5 separate regions of the Homo sapiens genome follow, and regions 1, 2, 3 and 4 are each linked to region 5. The links are contacts of gene promoters, found by promoter capture Hi-C in blood cells and fetal thymus (Javierre and others, 2016). All regions are on one chromosome and are shown on one strand. Each heading gives the region's core, a stretch centred on a gene start or on the middle of the fragment in contact. The rest is flanking DNA. Distances are from core to core; before and after follow the strand shown.

What was found. Contacts are between HindIII fragments. The CHiCAGO score rates a contact against its expected background, and 5 or more counts as called.
Region 1: a fragment that was not itself captured here is called in contact with the fragment with the promoter of DPYS in region 5 in 6 of 17 cell types (monocytes, M2 macrophages, M1 macrophages and 3 more); the score reaches 16.6 in monocytes.
Region 2: a contact is called between a fragment that was not itself captured here and the fragment with the promoter of DPYS in region 5, in 3 of 17 cell types (monocytes, total B cells and M2 macrophages). The highest score is 15.1, in monocytes.
Region 3: a contact is called between a fragment that was not itself captured here and the fragment with the promoter of DPYS in region 5, in 1 of 17 cell types (monocytes). The highest score is 6.9, in monocytes.
Region 4: a fragment that was not itself captured here is called in contact with the fragment with the promoter of DPYS in region 5 in 7 of 17 cell types (monocytes, M2 macrophages, M1 macrophages and 4 more); the score reaches 16.8 in monocytes.

The regions. Positions count from the first base shown.
Region 1 is chr8:103,777,677-103,781,995 of GRCh38, forward strand. All of the region lies in intron 6 of RIMS2 (regulating synaptic membrane exocytosis 2), which reads left to right. Among named protein-coding and RNA genes, the nearest start is that of RIMS2, 280 kb to the left of the region's middle. The HindIII fragment of the contact is 1,080 bases long and covers 1,569-2,648 here.
Region 2 is chr8:103,804,071-103,808,052 of GRCh38, forward strand. The region is part of intron 6 of RIMS2 (regulating synaptic membrane exocytosis 2); the gene reads left to right. Among named protein-coding and RNA genes, the nearest start is that of RIMS2, 310 kb to the left of the region's middle. The HindIII fragment of the contact is 8,748 bases long and covers 1-3,982 here.
Region 3 is chr8:103,742,111-103,745,838 of GRCh38, forward strand. The region is part of intron 5 of RIMS2 (regulating synaptic membrane exocytosis 2); the gene reads left to right. Among named protein-coding and RNA genes, the nearest start is that of RIMS2, 240 kb to the left of the region's middle. The HindIII fragment of the contact is 819 bases long and covers 1,603-2,421 here.
Region 4 is chr8:103,760,679-103,764,551 of GRCh38, forward strand. All of the region lies in intron 5 of RIMS2 (regulating synaptic membrane exocytosis 2), which reads left to right. Among named protein-coding and RNA genes, the nearest start is that of RIMS2, 260 kb to the left of the region's middle. The HindIII fragment of the contact is 6,588 bases long and covers 1-3,873 here.
Region 5 is chr8:104,465,141-104,469,187 of GRCh38, forward strand. DPYS (dihydropyrimidinase) reads right to left here and starts at 1,915. Exons shown (of 10, transcript NM_001385.3): 1 at 1,517-1,915. The coding sequence starts at 1,780. LOC105375691 (a long non-coding RNA gene) reads left to right here and starts at 630. Exons shown (of 3, transcript XR_928507.3): 1 at 630-847. RefSeq lists an enhancer at 3,669-4,047. The HindIII fragment of the contact is 2,857 bases long and covers 1-2,741 here.

The DNA of each region.
Region 1 (4,319 bases), core at 859-3,358, 690 kb before region 5:
AAATATAAATTCTGCCATTTGAAAGCTGTTAAAATATTTCATCATTTGATTTCATAATGGTATGCATATAAAAGTATTTTAAAATGGGCTGTATGCATTTTGATCTGACATTGGTTATCAAAATTGATTTGTGGACCATAAAAAAAATCCACTCTTAAAAAGATAAAAATAGAATTTTGTTTCATGCTGGGTATGAAATTGGGTATAAACTGGGTACAAAATTGGGTATAAACTGGGTACAAAATTGGGTATAAACTGGCTACAAAGACAAGAGTAACAACTTCGGAACTCAATCATAGCATATAATTTTAAGTTATCTTTTCTTTGCTGACATTTAAAAATGTCAAAACTTGCTATGACTTTGACATTTTTAAAAAGTTTGTTACTTTTCTTCATAGGTTAGAAGTAAAAAAATGGAGTGACATGAAAAGTACACATTTATGTATTTTTGATTTTTTATTGATGTATAATACATATACATATTTTGGGGATACATAGGATATTTTGACACATTCATATAATATGTAAAGACCAAATCAAGGTAGTTGGGATATCCATTACCTAAATATCTTATCTTTATGCTGGTAATATTCAAATTTTTCTCTTCTGGCTATTTTGAAATGTACAATAGATTATTGTTAACTAGTATCATCCTACTGATCTATCAAACACTAGGTCTTATTTCTATCTAATTGTATATTTGTATCCATTTATCAACCTCCTTATGCTCCTTCCCTCTGCCCTTTCTGGCCTCTGGTAACCATCAATCTACTTTCTAGAGATCTTCATGAGATCCACTTTTGTAGTTCCTACATGAGTGAGAACATGTAATATTTGGTCTTCTGTGCTTGGCTTATTTCACTTAACATAATGACCTCCAGTTCCATCCATGTTGCTGCAAATGACAGGATTTCATTCTTTTTATGGCCAAATAATATTCCATTCTATATATATGTCACATTATCTGTTTATCCATTGATAGGCATTTAGGTTGATTTTATATTTTGGCTATTGTGAATAGTGCTGCATTAAACATGGGAGTGCAGATATCTCTTTAATACATTAATTTCATTTCTTTTGGATGTATACTCAGTAGTGCAGTTGCTGGATCATATGATAGTTCTATTTTTAGTTTTTTGAGGAACCGCCAAACTCTTCTCCATAGTGGCTATACTAATTTATGTCCCCACCAAGTGTATGAGAGTTCTCCTTTTTCCACATCCTCACCAGTATCCCTTATCCTTGTCTTTTTGAAGAAGTCATTTTAACTGGGGTGAGAAGATATCTCATTGTGATTTGATTTGCATTTCTCTGATTATTAGTGATGTTGAACATTTTTCATATACCTGTTGGTCATTTGTATGTTTTCCTCTGAGAAATGTCTGTTCAGATCTTTTGCCCACTTTTAAATTGGATTAGTTGGTTTTTTGCTACTGAGTTGTTTGAGCTCTTTATATATTCTGGTTATCAATTCCTTGCTACATGGATAGTTTGCAAATATTTTCTGCCATTATATGGGTTGTCTCTTCATTTTGTTTATTGTTTTCTTTTCTGTGCAGAAGCTTTTAAGCTTGATAGAATCCCATTTGTCTGTTTTTGCTTTGGCTGCCTGTGATTTTGAGGCCTTATTCAAAATCTTTGCCCAGATCTATGTCCTGGAACATTTTCCCAATGTTTTCTTCTAGTAATTTCACAGTTTTGGGTCTTCAATATAAGTTTTTAATCCATCTTGATTTGATTTTTTTATATGGTGAAAGATAGGATTCTAGTTTCATTCTTCTGTATATGAATATCCAGTTTTCCCAGCACAGTGTATTGAAAAGACTATCCTTTCACCCTATGAATGTTCTTGGTGCCTTTGTTGAAAATGAGTTGGCTATCGAATACTATGCAGCCATAAAAAAGGATGAGTTCATGTCCTTTGTAGGGTCATGGATGAAGCTGGAAACCATCATTCTGAGCAAACTATTGCAAAGACAGAAAACCAAACACCGCATGTTCTCACTCATAGGTGGGAATTGAACAATGAGAACACCTGGACACAGGGTGGGGAGCACCACACACTAGGGCCTGTCATGGGGTGGGGGGAGGGGGGAGGGATAGCATTAGGAGATATACCTAATGTAAATGACGAGTTAATGGGTGCAGCACACCAACATGGCACATATATACATACGTAACAAACCTGCACATTGTGCACATGTACCCTAAAACTTAAGGTATAATTAAAAAAAAAAAAGAAAGAAAGTGAGTTGGCTATAAATGCATGGGTTTATGTCTGGATTCTCTATTCTGTTTCATTGGTCTATGTGTCTGTTTTTATGCCAGTACCATACTGATTTGGTTACCATAGCTTTGTAGTACATTTTGAAGTTAGGTAGTGTGAGGCCTCTAACATCCCTTGAAATTATCAGATGAATTTCTCTTGAAATTATCAGATGAATTGGAGTCCTTTATATGTTACTTGCTTCTTTCTTCTAGCTGCTTTTAGGATCCTCTCTTTATCCTTTACCTTTGAGGATTTGATTATTAGATGACTTGAGTTAGTATTATTTGGGTCGAATCTCTTTGATATTCTCTGACCTTCCTCTACCTGGATATTTATGTATTTCTCAAGTTTTGGAAAAATTTCAACATTATTTCTTTGAAGCTTTTACCTTTTGCTCTTGTTCAACTCCCTCTTAGACACAAATAATTCTTAGATTTGGTCTTTTCTGGTAATATTCTATTTCATGTAGATCATCTTCATATTTTTCATTGTTTTTCTTCTTTCTCCTCTGATCGTATTTTCAAATGCTTGTCTTCAAGCTCTCCGATTCTTTCCTCTGCTTGATCCATTCTGTTGTTGAGAGCCTCTAATGATTTTTTTCAGTTCAGCCAATGTATTTCTCAGTTGCAAGATTTTTGTTTTTTAAAAATTATTTTAATATTGTTGCTAAATTTCTCAGATGAATTCCTGAATTGCTTTCTGTGTTAACTTGGAGATCACTGAATTTCCTTAAAACTGCTATTTTTTTATGTGAGAGAGCTCACATATCACTCTCTCAGTGGCATCAGTAGCTGGTTCCTTGGTTTGTCCATTTGGAGAGATAATGGTTTCCTGTTTGCTATTGCTTCTTGGGGATGTCTTTCTATGTCTTTGCATTGAAAGGTTATTTATTCCAATCTTCCCTGTCTGGCTTGTTTTGTTTTTTACTTGACTTGTTTTCTTAGAGATTCTTTTTAGTTTACCTGTTGATTTTTTTTTTCTAGGTTGCTGCCTTCTTTTTGTTGCTGGATGGTACCTTAAGCCAAAGTTTGCCTGGCTGTAGTAAATGATTGGGTTGCTGCCCATACTGAATGGGAAAAGTCCAAAGGGGATATTCTGGCAGTGTTGGGAGGCTGGCCAGGGGCTCATGCCCAGGGGATCTATGGAATATACCTCCTGTAGCATGGTGCTGTGGAATAGCCCCTCTGATTTGGCATCTCCTTTGATTGAGTTAAGGAACAGTTTCCAGGACTGAGATCCAGTGTAGAAACTGTGAGTTGGGGGAAGTATTCCACACACTTCGTGGTGGGCAGATTATGGGGAAAGGCATCAAATACCTTACAGCTTGCCTGGAGTTTTTTCACTTCTTTGTGGCCCTGAGAACTGTCTCTTCCTCACGTTTGAATTCTGGGATATTGCTGATGATAAATTGGTGCTGTATATTTGTTTTCCATTTTCTGTGGGGGTGGAGGGAGTGAAGCCAGCTTGGTTCTTTGTCATTTTGGAACTGGAACAAAAGTATATATTTTTAGTAAAGTTAAAATTATTTTTTCATCAGCAAGTGTTAAAAGTTATTTTGTTCAAAATGACTTAGTATTGTTGCTATAGAGATGGCTTTGATAGGTACTTGAAAAAGTTACTACGCTTATTTTAAAAAACGGTTCAAAATCTTGTTTCCATAATTACTCAAACTTTTTGATTTGCATGTTCTCTTTGAATGTGTTTTGGAGTAAATTTTAAGACTCCTCAGTTCTTGAAGAAGAATTTTCTTATGCTTCAAGGTTTATTTCTTCCGTATATTATCTCCCCTAATCTTTTTTTTTTTTTTTTTTTTTTTTTTGAGACAGAGTTTCACTTTTGTCATGCAGGCTGGAGTGCAATGTTGTGATCTCAGCTCACTGCAACCTCTGCCTCCCAGGTTCAAGCGATTCACCTGCCTCAGCCTCCCAAGTAACTGGGATTACAGGTGTGTACCACCATGCCCGGGTAATTTTTGTATTTTTATTAGAGACGGGGTTTCACCATGTTGGTCAGGCTGGTATTGAACTCCTGACCTCCGGTGATCCGCCCA
Region 2 (3,982 bases), core at 1,006-3,505, 660 kb before region 5:
TTTTGCAGCAATGGCAAACTAGTACAGCATATTTCAAAAAAAGTAAAGAAAAATTTAGTGAGAAAAGTGACATTATTTTACATTTTTGGGAAATTCCATTATTGTCTAACTTAGTGGAAGACAGCTTCTGTATTCAATATATTGAGATATCACACATACTTTAGCCTCTGGAAAACTCCACTGTACACCCAAGAGAGAATGAGAATCAAAAAGGCAAATAACATTTTAGTATTATGCATATAGGTTTGACCCTGCAGATCCTCTGAAAGGGATTTGGGGATTCTACTGAGGGCACTGGATTACACTTTTAAGAACTGCTAGATTTTGGAATAAATTTTCCGTAGTCTCCTCCTCTACCACCAACAGAGTATTGGATTGTATGTGGACAAGATTATATAAGGTAACATAACATATATGGAACACTCAGCTTCCTTGACTGTTTTTCACTTGATTTCTGCTTTTGTCCTTGAGTTTGTCTATGTGGTTTATTTTCTCTGCTCCTCCTGGTAAGAAAATGCAGTAGATCCTTACTGACTCTTATTTCTAGGAGGAATAGATAGGAATATGTTTAATATGTAGTGAATTGAGACAGAGTTTTTCTAAATCATCCTGGCATATTTTGACTGTGGTATTTACCTGCAAAGGTGCTGTAGCCATTGAGAGATTTGATTTAAAACCCAAGAGGAGTTTTTAAACTGTAGTTTTTCACTTATAAGGAGTTTGTAGAAATTGTCTTTTTTTTTTCTTTGAGAGTCTTGCTCTGTCACCCAGGCTGGAGTGCAGAGGTACAGTCATAGATCACTGCAACCCCTAGCCCCTGAGATCAAGCAATCTTCCTACCTCAGCCTCCTAAGTAGCTAGGACTATAGGTGAATGCCATCACACCCAGCTAATTTTTTATTTTTGTTAAGATGGGGTCTGACTATGTTGCCCAGGCTAGTCTCAAACTCTGGCCTCAAGCAATCTTCCTGCCTTGGCCTCTTAAAGCGCTGGCATTACAGGATGAACCACCACACCCAGCCTCATTTAAAAAAAAGTGTGTGTATCTATTTTTATGTATGTGTTTTTTTCTGTATGTGTAATACTTAATAATGGTACTAATTGTTATTTCTCTTGAGTGTTTTTGTTTAATTTTGTGTGACCTTTTTTATCCCTAGGAATCCTGAAGAGTGAATTAGTCCCATGAATCTCAAGATAGCTCAATATATGATAAATTCACTATTGTCATAAGATTTGGGATGCATCTTAGTGTTATTAACATTAATATGTTGTGTAGATTTCTTCTTTAGTAAGCTGCAGCTACTCTTGTTTTTTTAAATAACTAAGTCAGCAAAAATAAATAGTACAGAGAGTCAAAATTTTTGTCACATATAATCAACTATTTTTATTTCTGTGATACATACCTGAGAGTTGCTAACATCTATTATTTGACACAGTTGGAAATTTTAAGGTATGGTCTGGAACTCTTTGTTTGGAAATAAGGTCTTTCAAGGTTGGTTTGAAGGTTATTAGTAGAACAGTTCTCACTTTGCTTACCTAATTACACAGTGCTTGAGCTGGAAAATTAAACTTTATTTTGACTTCCCAATCCCTACTAATGCAATCTCTCTTCCACTTTTTCTTTTCATTTCTTCTTTTATTATATTTCCACCTGAACTTTTTTGTCTATTTCTTAGAGCTAGTTTTCACCTTATTTTTCCTCATTGATATTTTCAAATTCCTATTGAGTTTTCTGTATATTTAATCTCTTTAATCACTTTAGTCTTCCTTTCCTCTGCCTCAGACTTAATCAGTTGTGATAAAGCAGGATTAATAAATTTTAGTTACATCTCTCAGAAATATTTATAATATTCTTCATATAACCAAGATGGCAAGACTACAGTGTGTGGGGAGTCAAAATTGTTGCAATATAAAATAACTTTTTCATTTCTGTGATATATATCTGAAACTCACTTATATGAAAAATTTAACATAAAGTTTTGAGATATAACTTAAAACCCCTGTCTGGAAAGTGGTAAGACAACAGATTCTCTTCTATTTGACTTCGTTTAATAAGAATTAGAGTCATGAGGGTGGAAGGATTATGAAGATTTGATTTGTGCTCTTGCAATATTTCTTTTTTCTGTCTAAACATGTTTGAATCTATGCTTTATTGTTTTATTCTCTCAGAAAACATAAGGCTTAAGGGTTATGTTTATCTTCAAGGCTGAAGGCCTTGTTCTTTTTATCTGTATTTTTACATCACCTTTGGATTTTAAATTCCAAGGACCCTTAGAAACTATAACACTAACTTACATTTTAAATGAGAGTTCCATAAGAAGTTGCTGAATGACAGATACAGTAGTACCGTGGAAGGAGCACTGGACTATAAATCACAAGCTCTAGGTACTAGTTCTAACTTTGTCACCAGCCATTTGGTCCAAAAAGCCTTGGATGAAACAGTGCATCACATCTCTTTTCTGTAGACGGAGGAGGTTTAGATTCTATTTTAAATGTGATAAGATACTATTGTAGGGTTTAAACATGGAAGGAGCATGATATTATTTTGTGTGTGTGTGTGTGTGGGCAATCTTTGGTGGAGAATGGTTTGTAGAGGACAAGATTAATGCACCGAGAAGCTAGGAGATTATTGAAGTCATCCATTAGAGAGATGTTGGTAGATGGAACTAGAATTATAGTAGTGAGATGGAAAATGTTCATGGATTTGTGTTCCATTTTGAAGATAGAGTTGATAGAACCTACCGATAGATTTGATTTGTGTGGTGGAGTGTGAAAGCAAAAGAGATATCAAGGTTAATTCCTAGATAAATCATGGTGTTGTTTTAAGACAGAAAAAAAATGGGAGGAACAGGTTTGGGTGAGGAAATCAGGAATTCTGTTTGGCCTTGTTATGTTTGAGATGCCCTTTTGACTTCCGTTTGGGGATTCCAAATTGACAGATGGTTAAATGAGTCTGGAGTTTTAGGGGAAGATAAGGGCAAAGATATACAGAAGATATTTAAAGCCATGGGACCTAAGTCACCGGGAAGGGGGAGCTGTAAATAAAAAGAGCAGAGAGGGTTCACAACACAGCCAAAACAGGGCCTTGGACATTCCACACATTTAAAGATCTAAGAGAGGAATGAGAGCCAACAAAAGACACTGTGAAAAAATTGACACTGTGAAAGAAAATCAGAAGAATGTGTCTCAGGAATGAAGAGTAAAAATGGTTTAAAAGTCATGGATAGCATTAGTGTCAAATGATACAGATAAGTCATGGTAAAAAAAGAACAGAGAATTGTCTGTTTAGTTTGATAACATGCAAGTAATTGGTGAGAACAATCTCAATAGAACATTAGTGCTAGAAAATTGATTAGTATGGATTTAAAAGAGGATGTGAAATGAAAACATGGCCATAGCAACTAAAGACAACTTCTTCAAGAAATTTTGCTGTGAAGAGGAGCAGAAAAATGGGGTAGTACCTGGAAGGGAATATGAGGTCAAGGGAAATTCTGTTAAGATAGGAAATAATATAGTAATAAAATCACTGATAACTTGATTCACATATACAATTAATATTATTTGTTTATCATTACAAGTATCATTGGAACCAAGGGAGTTCTAAAATAGACTAAAGAGTAAATAAACTAGGTATTTTATGGAGGAGCTGGTAATAAAAAGGGTAAGACAGATGGAAAATTGATAGAATAGATCTTGTTTATATTATATTTTCCTTTCTTTTCTATTTTCACATTTGGTGCTTAAACACCTTTACTTTTAAGTAGCTAGGATCTTTGATTAATCCTGATCTCTGTCCATATTTACAGGTCAGACAAATTATATTTTTTAAGTTGATAAGATTAGATTGAAATACATTTAGATTTGCATGAGTTTATTTGCATCAGATCTTCTGTTTTGGCTGAAAAAAGACTAAAAATTTTATTTGCTTACCTTTCACCAAAGGAGGAAAGGGGGATGATGGAAGAGGCTAAGAAGATGTCTA
Region 3 (3,728 bases), core at 762-3,261, 720 kb before region 5:
ATGAATATGAATGCTTTCAATGTAGGCTTTAAAGTATAAGTATTATCCATTAGTCTATTTCTTATGATTATCCACTGAGTCAACTCCATTCTTGAGATGGATATAAAGATCCTGAAGATCCTTATATATTTAGCCAAGTAAAACCAAAACAACCTAAATGTGAGTATTTACAGTTTTGAATTCTCTTCACTAGTGGATTCCTGGGCAAGTCTCTTAATGTGCCATCATTTCATCAAATATGTTATTTTTGTTATGATTGCAAATGACTAGAACCATATGTACATAATGAGTCTGTAAGTAATATCTTCTACCATTACTTTTGCCATGATCTGAACAATGCCTTCTGCAGTTTTATAAACTCTATAATTATATCTGTAAGGGTTTAATACAATTGCACTGACAGACTTACCAGGCAACATCCTTTTAGCTTTTCACTTTTGTAGCAGACGCAATAACCCTTTTTGTCATATAAGATTTCCTAGCTTTAGTAGTGAGCAATATTAATTTATAAAAGCTCTCTAAAGCCAGTCTTGATTAACTGCTTGTAAGTTGCTAATACCCTCTGTTTTCTTATAATGTGAATAGTTTTCTTTAGGGTTTGAATGTTTTGTGAATAAATGATGCTTCAAGAGAGATGGTTTCATGCTGTTTTCTTTAACAACGATGCCTCAAGGGCAGAATCTCTCAGGGGCTCTCTGGAGCAGTGCATTCTTTCATAATTAGGAGTCACTTTCCCAGGAGGATTATATATCTGAGGACATTATCTTACATATACTCGTACCTTTCTTCTTAATGCTTTATGAATTCTAACAAATTTCAAGCTATTAAACAGCATTAGTTTATTATAAGATAGCGTACCATGAACAGGCTTTTTAAGGTCTGATCTACATTATTAGCAATTAAGATATTTTTATAAAGGATGTCAGTTAAGTTCCTTTTATGCCCTCTTCCAAAATTTGTTTAGCAAGTACCTTGTTTTAGTCATGGGTGTATAACTGTAGCATCACTAATGTTCTCTGGACACAGAAGAAAACTCTGCACCTTTAATAAGCAAGTACTTTTGTTAGCTGTTGACACAACTCCATTTATGTCAACATCTAATCTACAAATGCATTCTATATTTCATGTATATAACAGGAATCAGCCATATATTTCTTTCTTTTCAAGATATTTGCCAATTGACTACAATGAATACTTTAGAGATCTATTGGGAAACTAAGTTAAGAAAATTATGATGACTCCAGAATTATTGCCGGATAAATTTGTTTATCTGCAGTTTCTATTCCATTGAGTTAACAGTGTCTGATTTGAAAATATTCTTTAAAAATTGATAACTCTGGATTATTAGGATAAAAAAACCGCATTATAGTTTACCTAGCTATCAAGATCATTTAAAAGTGGCATAACTGAACTGAAGTTTCCTTTTTGTCATATCGTATAATTAGCATCTATATTTATTACTTATGATTTTATTGATATCACAGATTCTTTTGTTTACATTTATATTGTAAACATATATTAATTTATGCTCTAAGGAAGTATTTGAGAAAACCTGGTTTTATTTGGTCAGATAGTATGCAAATTTAAAGGGAATGAATCTAAAGCTTCCCCATTAAGTATAATCTTTGACACAGTGTTTTGATATATAATCTTTACCATTCTAAGGAAATGTCCTTTTATTCCTATTTCTGTTACCAAGTTAAAGAAATACACTTGTATTTCTAGTTTTCTAAGAATTACTTTAAGACATAAATGGGGTTGAACTTTATTAAATGCTTTTTCTTCATTGATTGAGAGAATCAAATGATTTTTTTCTCCTTTAGTCTATTAATACGTTGAAGTACATTTGAGTTGGATCATCCTTACATTCAAGGAGTTAAATGGTATTGATTATAATATGGTATGTTTCCTAGTTGTGTAGGATTTTTTGTTGTTGTTTGTTTGTTTGTTTTTTGAGACGAAGTGTTGCTCTGTTGCCAGGCTGGAGTGCAGTGGCAGGATCTCAGCTAACTGCAACCTCTGCCTCCCAGGTTTAAGTGATCCTCCTGCTTCAGCCTCCTGAGTAGCTGGGACTACAGGCATGCGCCACCACGCCTAGCTAATTTTTGTATTTTTACTAGAGATGGGGTGTCACCATGTTAGCCGGGATGGTCTCGATCTCTTGACCTTGCGATCCACCCACCTCAGCCTCCCAAAGTGCTGGGATTGCAGGCATGAGCCACCACGCCCAGCTAGGATTTTTATATTTAAGTTTTGGCTTATGTTTTGGCTCCAAATATATGTCAGTGGAATTGGCCTGTGCTTTGCTTATCTTGTGTCAAAATTATATTATTTTCATAAAATGAGCTGTATGGCTTTATTTTTTTTAAATTTAATTTTATGGAACAATTTACTTAAGATACGAATTAATGGTTCCTGAAAAGCTTAGTAGGATTCACCTGCAAAACTGTAACAATTGTTATATGTACCCTACTCATATGCCTTCAGCCCATTCCAAATGGTACCTGCAAATGGTTCCTGAACATAACAATTGCATCCTGTGCCTCTATGCCTAAGGGCATTTTATGGCCAAGGGAACAGGCCTAACCTGAAGAGGAGAGACAGGCATGCCAATGAGCTAATATATAAATACCCCAGACCCCTTGCTCTTCAGTGGGTTGATTCTGAGAAGGTCTCATCATGGCCAAGATTTGCCCCTAGAAATAATCTACTCTTTAATTGACATCTATTGGCTTTCCTACCTTTCATGTTTCACTTCTTCACTCTGACTATACTTTTTTGGATTGTCATTCAAATAAACTTCTTTGCATCAAATGTTGGGCTCAGGATCTGCTTGTAGAAAAGCCTGAAATAATACAAAAGCCATCTGGGCCTAATATTTTCTGTAGAAGAGCTACATTAAAACATTTTTTAGTTGAGATATTTATATAGTAAAATTAACTATTTTAAAGTATACAAGTTAGTGGTTTTTAGTACATTAACAGTGTCATGCAACCATCACAATTTGTCCAATTCCAGAACATTTTCATCACTATCTTCCCAAAAAACCCCTGTACCCATTAGTAGTCACTCCCTTACTTCCCTATACCCCTGCAATCACTAATCTACTTTCTTATTCTATGGAGTTATCTGTACTGGACATTTCCTATTATGCTTTTACGGCTCATCTGTGTTGTAGCAAGAATTAATATTTTGTTTCTTTTTATGGCTGAATTACATTCCATTGTATGGTTATACCACATTTTTTTTTCATTCATCAATCGAAAGACACTTTTGTTGTTTATACTTTTTGGCTATTGTGAATAATGCTGCTGTGCACATTCATTTGCAAGTTGTGTAAAGATTTGTTTTCAATTATCTTGGATATTACCTAGGAGTGGAATTCCTGGGTTATATGATAATTCTATGTTTAAGTTTTTGAGGAACTACCAAGTTGTTTTTCACAGTAACTATATCATTTTACATTCCCACCAACAATGTACAAGAGTTACACTATCCTCACATCTTCACCAACACTTATTTTCTGTTCTTTTAAAAAATGACATATATTTCAGTGGGTATGAAGTGGTATCTCATTATGGCTTTTGATTTGCATTTTCCAGTGACTAATGACATTGAGCATTACTTCTTATGCTTTTTGGCCACTTGGATATGTTTATGCAGAAATATTCAAGTCCTTTGTCCATTTAAGGTTGGGTTGTTGTTGGGTTGTAAGAGTTCTTTATATA
Region 4 (3,873 bases), core at 378-2,877, 700 kb before region 5:
GGAAAGATCTATGGTGGGACTGCATTCCTTTTGTAACATTTACCGTAATTATAACAATATTTGTGCAATTATTTGTTTGCTTATTGTCTCCCTAGTACACTTTATACTCTGTAGCAAAATGTATATTTGTTGAGCTTTATTCACCAGCTGTTAGCATAGCATTTGGCATATAGTAGCCATTTAGTAAATATTGTATAAGTAAATAAATAATGAATTGGTGTTAATAGTTACTTGCCCATCTATAAATAAATTGGAATTCTATGATTTCAATTAATTTTTATGGCAAATTATAGCTTCATCTAAGTTTATCTACTAAACTAAATGTAATATTATTCTTTTAGTAGAATGTAGTGAATATATTATAGTCACTGGTGTGTTCATACGTGCTAACAACCAGCTCTCTTTTAGAAAAATCTCTGACTTTTGGCATTTTCCAATTTATTTAGTCTAAATACATCCACCACAGCTGATTTCAAGCTAACCCACATTACTTCATGGAATGTGGAGTTAGGGAGAAAGCACACAATTTGTTTTCATGAGTTAGTGAACAACACCGAAGCTCTTTCATATTCATGCCCTGGTAATGGATTGTTCTTCACATACAAGATTGTGCTAGTAATACACATTGAATAAGCATGTACTTTAAAAAGACTGTGAATTAGTCAAGGTAATGCAATCAATTATAGAAGGTAAACTCAAAAAATCTTTAAAGCTCAACTTAGTAGAAGTTTAGTTTTCACCTATGTGAAGTCCACACTGGTAAGCTGATCAGCTGAGTGCTCTCCTCCTAGTGATTATTCAGGTTCCCAGGCACCTTTTTTTCCTGTGGCTTCCTTATCTCCAAGGTCTTGGCTGAACAGCATGAAGATAGCACATGAGAATTTTTAAAAGTTTATGAAAGTGGCACACCCATTCCACTTATAATCCATTGGTAGAATATAATTGTATGGTCATAGCTGCCCAAGATAACATGGAAAATGTAGTTTTCTAAGAGGAAAGGAAATAAGTTGTTGAATAGCTAGCCAGAATCTTTCACAATTTTCTATTTATGTAATGGTTACTTGATCAATTTATACTCTTTTACCTTATTTCTTCTCTGACAAATGCACACATATTTATAAGCAGGTTGGCAATGGTTAGAGGTAGAGTCTAGTGAATTCCTTTTTCTGTGCAGTTAGCTGGATCATAGGAGCTTGGCCTATGGTCTCGTTAGTGTAAGTCTTTAAACTATAATCCCTCCCTTTTTTGAATTACTCTATTTTTTTGTCCCTGTTTAGAAGAAAATCATAGTATTTTGCAGACCTTTAGATTGCTCTCAATTATTGTATATACCTAATGTAAATTTTTTTTTTTTTTTGCTTTCTTTTAGTATTCACTGCAGCTGTTATGGTTATTATTTTTGTGGTTTAAAAAAGATATTTGTATTTTCCTTAGTTTTTTTCCCTTCCTTTCCTAACATTCCTAAGAATGTTTATGGAATAAAACATATGGAAGTAAGTGACAAATTTGGGTCATTAGAGATTATTCCATCTCTTAATATTTCTATATTATTTTTAAAATTTTGACATATTTAGGACTGAAGGTAATAATAATTTATAATTTTGAACCCTGTATGTTTTGTATTCTCAGGTTCTAGATGTTTTTGGTAATTATGAGAATCAGTTAATAGTCTCTAACCAGGGAGATTTATAGGCATATATATTTCTAACATATTTTAGATGGCATTCCTTATGTGGTTAACTTAATTGGTTAAAGCGTTCTATTAGCAAAAGGCCTGTGACTTTATTGCCAAATTAGATAAATTTTGTTCCATGGACACAGAATTTATCTCTAATAGCTATTAATCATTTCATAGTCAATTAATGAAAAATCATTTCACAACATATATGTATTTGTGAGAGGTATTGGTGTGTGTGAGAGGTAATTCAATACCGTCGCCAATTTATAAGCTAAGCTGCTTTCTGTGTAAAGGGCTACAAGTGAAAGTATCAGTTTTTCTGTACTACAATTGTGTTGCTAATGATGGAGATACAGCCCAAGAAGTGCATCATTAGGCAATTTTGTCATGCTAACATCATGGAGTGTACTTAAACAAATCTAGATGGTATAGCCTTCTACACACCTAGGCTAGATGATATAGTCTGTTGCTCCTAGGCTACAAACCTGTACAACATGTTACTGTATTAAATATTGTAGGCAGTAGTAACATAATTAAAAGTGTTTATGTATCTGAACATATTTAAATATAGAAAAGGCATGGTAAAAATACGGTATTATAATATTAGGGAACCACCCTTCTATATATGGTCTTTTGTTGACTGAACTATTGTTATGCAGCACATGGCAGTACTTGATGTGGGTAGATCCGGAATTCCTGAGCTTAAAGGATTAATAAACTATTAATCCAAGAGTAGGAGGAGATGGTAGAAGAAGAAAAGAAAGGTAACCAGGGTGTCAATATATGAATAGGAAAATACTAGGAGGCATGGTGGCTCACATCTGTAATCCTAGCACTTTGGAAGGCTGAAGTGGGCAGATTGCTTGAACTCAGGCATTCAAGACCAGCCTGGGCAACATAGTGAAACCCCATCTCTACAAAAATACAAAAATTAGCTGGCGTGGTGGCACATGCCCATACTCCCAGCTACTTGAGGGACTGAGGCAGGAGATTCATTTTAACTTGGGAGGTTGAGGCTACAGTGAACTGATATTGTGCCGCTGAACTCCAGCCTAGGTGACAAGGTAAGACCCTGTTTCAAGGAAAAAAAAAAAGAAGAAGGAAGAAAGGAAGGGAGGGAGGAAGGAAATAAGGAAGGGAGAAAGCGAGGAATATAGGATAAGGGAAGGAGGGATACGGAATAAGGGAGGGAAGAAGGGAGGAAAGGAAGGATATAGGAGCTAGTGATTTAGGAAGGAACAAATGATCTAGTCAGAAAAGGAACAAGCAGTGTGCATAGCCCAGGCAATGTGAGAAGGATATTAACACATGGAGAGTCTTTAATGGGAATCAGACATCATCCTTCATACCTTATGCTCATCTGTCTTATATTAATATTCACTAGATATTAACAGATGAGGAAAATTAAGCTGATAGTGTTTCCAATTCTTTTTCTCATTTTGGGCTCCACAGAAACAATACTACTTGTACAGTCAGCAGTTCACACTAAGGTAAACTGACAAGGCTGTGTATGAACTCCTTTGGTCTTAGCCAGTCTGAGGAGCATACTTGTAACCCATTTAACATATTGAACTACGAATCTCTGCCATAGACCGGTGGTTCTCAAATGTTAGCAAACATCAGAATTACCTGGAGGGTTTGGGGAAAAAATATTGCTGGGCACTGCCCCAGAGTTTCCTATTCAGTAAGTCTGGGGTGGGACCTGGGAATCGGCACTTCTGGTGATACTGATGCTATTCTCCCAGGGATATTCTTTGAGAAGCTCTGCTCTGAAATACATTAAGTAACCTGCTTACCTTGTGAAAAATTTTATTTTTCAACTGTTACAAAGCAGCAAATGCTGTTTCTGCAGATGATAGTGATTGGATAATTGTCTGTCTCACAAGCTCTCGTTTGTTGTTAATTACCAGGCACAAAGGGATGCTCTTCTTCAGTACTCTGAGTGTGACCTAATTCAGATAAATTCATATCTTATAATCATCTAGAATAGATTATCACTGAAGCATAAATAACAACTTGTTTAAAACAGAAAAGTTGACATTCAAACTTCATTTATTTTTACATTATTTTGTGGTTCTGTTTTGCGTGACTTTTTAAAAGAGATCTGTAGTACCTGCGTTTGTCACAAGATGGCATCAAAAGGCTGAGATGCTGGCTCAAATTTCATTTTTTGAGACTGTTGATGGGTTAGATAT
Region 5 (4,047 bases), core at 665-3,164:
TGGAGAGGGGGAGGTGTAAGGAGAGCAAAACTGTCAGAAATCAGTATATGAATGAAGTAGCTATCACCAAAACTGCTTTGGAAGACTGTCAGCCTGTCCACAGTAACATGGGAATAGAAAGAAAGAGAGGGGTGGAGGGGGTAGTGGGGGGAGAAAGAAGGGAGGGAGTGATGGAGAGAAGGAGGGAGGGAGGAAGGAAGCCTACTATACACTGGACTTAATAGCCCAACTTGTTTCACACATCAAGGTATGGTCCAAGTGAAAAGCCAAGGCCTTTAGTATATCAATACATCTTCACTTTGGAAGGAGCCATTTCTCTCAAGGCAGCTCAAAACACAGGACTTAGGGAGGATGTGGGCTTTACTTTAGCCCAAGTGCTGAGAGTAGAATTTTTACTCTATGTTCCTGTAAAGCTGCTCTGTTAGTCTCTTGATCTTGTGTTGAGGAGCTTTGGGGAAATGTTGCAGGGGTGTCCAATCTTTGGCTTCTCTTGTCTTGGGCCACACATGAAATATACTAACACTAACGACAGCCAATGAACTAAGAAAAAAAATCTCATAATGTTTTAAGAAAGTTTATGAATTTGTGTTGGGCCGCATTCAAAGCTGTCCTGGGCTGCATGCGGCCTACAGGTTGGACAAGTTTGGTTTAAGTTTCCTTTCATTGACCCAAACTTCTAGGCCTTTGTATCTAGAGAAACCCAAGCCTACCTTCACCTGGGGAGTGGTGATCTGATTACCCTCCTGCAACATCAGTAAAACTATGGGTACTCCAGCAGCAAGAATGTTGTGTCCCCAGCGCAAGTGGGATGGAGAAAAGAGCCTGCTGCGAGGCTGCGTTGGTGTGTGTGAGTGTTGCGAGATCATTTCTGGAATACTTTCTCTTCTAAACCCTGGTCGGGGCTATATTTTTTCTACTGGGGGTGGGAGTGGGGGCAGAGGGTAGGGGACGGGAACGTGAACACGGTGGGCATCTAGCCTACTCAGACACATTACCTGCTACACTGCTCACTTTGAGTCAAGGCTGTAACTACCAGGTGAATGGATTTTTCATTTGGTTTTGGTTGGGGATAAAGGATGGGTCGAAATGGTTGGGAGAAATGGCTGGAAGTGCCTACTTTAAAAAAAGATTCTAAAGAATGTATGGAAGATTTGCGACTTCCACAGAACACCAATCAAAATGGGGTTGCGGGGAGATTTGGGGAGTAAGCGGTATAGAGAAATTAGGGTAAGGGGATGGCCTTAAACTCGTCAAATTAACCACTAAAGGAGGAGTCGAGGGCATCTGGTTGAGCCAAGGCTGCTCGGCTGCCGCCGAGAAGGGGCGCCTGAAAGGGACCCCAGCGAAGAGAATCTGAGTCCCCTCTGACACCCGCCGGGGCTGCGCTCCTTCCCGCCCACCCAGCTCCTCGGCGCCGCGCCGCGCGAGGCGGCCCTGCTGAGGACCCCGGGACGACTGGGGAGGCTGCCCGAGCCTCCGTGGGTACCGCGGGGCGGGGGCGCGGCGGGGCGGGTACCTTGGTGCCCTGGTGGAAGTCGTCGATGGACCGCGAGCCCATGAAGGGGAACTGCATGTGCGTGTGTGTGTCGATGCCTCCGGGCAGGACGAGCTTGCCGGCGGCGTCGAGGACCCGCAGCCCCGCAGGAGCGCCCCCGGGAGGCAGCAGGTCGTGCCCGAGTGCCCGCACCACGCCGTCCTCCACCAGCACGTCGGCCACCTCCGAGAAGTCATCGTTGACCACGCGACCCCCGCGGATCAGGAGCCGCGAGGGCGCCGCCATAGCGAGGGGCGCGCGGGGTCCTACTCGGCCCGGGCTGCGCGCAGGGGCTGGGTTGGGCGGGCCGGGCGGGCTTGGGGTGCCCTCCTGCAAGGTCCCCACCGACAGCCCCCGAGCTCTGCCTCAGGCTGCAAATCCGGAGCCCGGCGGCCTGACGGGTTTATGACCTGGCCGCATATGCGGCTCCTCCCCCCGGGAAGGCTGGGCTGGAGCCCAAAGGCCGGGATTGAACAGGTCCGCATGGTCCTTGCACACTCAGACCCCAAGTGTTCTGCGCCCTGAGTTGAGGTATCCACCCAGGCTTCGGAGTCATTGGAAGGGAAAGATCTTGGAATTTTAAGAGAAAGGAACCTGCGTTTTTCATCATAAGATTAGGTGCTAAAGGGAAAGAAATCCACCTCACCCTTTCCCTTGGTTGGGGGTGTGTTTGTACCAAAAGACAGATCCAGAGGGAGAAAGAAAGCAAGAACCATCACTAGAAGCAGCAACAAAAATACCCAAACCCACCCAAGCCAGAACAGAGCCACTCGATCTGGGTTTCCTGTTAAATGTTCTTAAGCGAGGAGCAAATTATCATATAATCCCAGTAATTGGCAGACACAGGGAAGGATCAGAGTAAAATATTTAATGTATTTGAAAGAAAACGACTTGGTGTCAACTATTCTCCACAGTTTAATGATACAACACATACCAGCAAGTGTTTCTTGGAAAATAACCGGTACTGTAACTCTAAAGATTTAAATTTCTACTCCCAGCTTTTCCACAAAACCAGTTTAGAGATCTTCAGTTAAATCTTTTATTCTCTTGGTTCCTCAGTTTTCTCATATATAAAATTGATTAATACTTGTTCTTGCCTTCCATATTTGCTTTGAGAAGCAAATATGATCATGGCTGTGAATACACCCTAATAAAGTGGGAAGCACCATGCAAATTCACTTAAATACTGGCTTTGTAAGGACTACAAAGCTTACCTGACTAGGGGGATTGGCTAGAGGGCTAAGTGGGAAAGATAAACCACATTTCCACCCTCAAGTAGCTAACAGCCAACAGTGACACACATTCATATTTCAATATATAAAACAGAACATTCTATCTTTGAGAAGGGATAAAGATAAGAATTTAGAGGAAAGAGTGAGTTTATTTCTGGCTTAAAGACATCAGATATGGAAGATTTGTGAAGAGGTATTTGAACTAGGATACAGAGAATGTGAACACGCAGAGGTGAGTGGTGGGAAGAGGACATAGTGCTCCAGGTAGAGTGAACAGAGCGTGTAAAGGCACAGAGAGGATGAAGGAATGCACTCCCTGTGGTTAAGCTATGAGGGATAGGCTTACACTGAATCCTGGACCATCCCTTTGCTTATAGGGGAGGAGGAGGAAGAAGAGACAGAGTGGTCAGAGAGAAGGGAGACCACAGGTCTGTGTGATGGAAGGCAGGAATGCAGAATTTTAAGAAGGGCAACAGGATGGAATCTTGCAAAAGGGTTATGAAGGGTCATGGGGAGGTGGGGTGGACATCTGCTGACCAGGCATATATTCTTGTCCTTATTCTGGTAACAGTCACTGGCATTTCTTTGGTGGGAAATCCTCTGCCTGAAGTCTCAGAACACTTGTTTTGGAGAAACTGATGGTGAGAGACAGGACTAGCTGGATTTCCTAGGCTGACTAAGAATTCCTAAGCCTAGCTGGGGAAGGTGACTACACCTACCTTTAAACATGGGGCTTGCATCTCAGCTCACACCCTACCAGTCAGGTAGTAAAGAGGGCTCACTAAAATACAAATTAGGTTAAAAGCAGGAGGTAAAGAAATAGTCAAATCATATATCACCTGAGAGCACAGGAGGAGGGACAATGATCAGGATATAAACCCAAGCATTCCAGCAGGGAGCGGCAACCCCCTTTGGGTCCTCTCCCATTGTATGGGAGCTCTGTTTTCACTCTATTAAATTTTGCAGCTGCACACTCTTCTGGTCTGTGTTTGTTACGGCTTGAGCTGAGCTTTTGCTCACCATCCACCACTGCTGTTTGCTGCCGTCACAGACCCGCCGCTGACTTCCACCCCTCTGAATCCAGCAGGGAGTCCGCTGCGCTCCTGATCCAGCGAGGCGCCCATTGCCGCTCCAGTTCAGGCTAGAGGCTCGCCATTGTTCCTGCATGGCTAAGTGCCCGGGTTTGTCCTAATCTAACTGAACACTAGTCGCTGGGTTCCGTGGTTCTCTTCCTTGACCCACGTTTTCTAATAGAACAATAACACTCACTGCATGACCCAA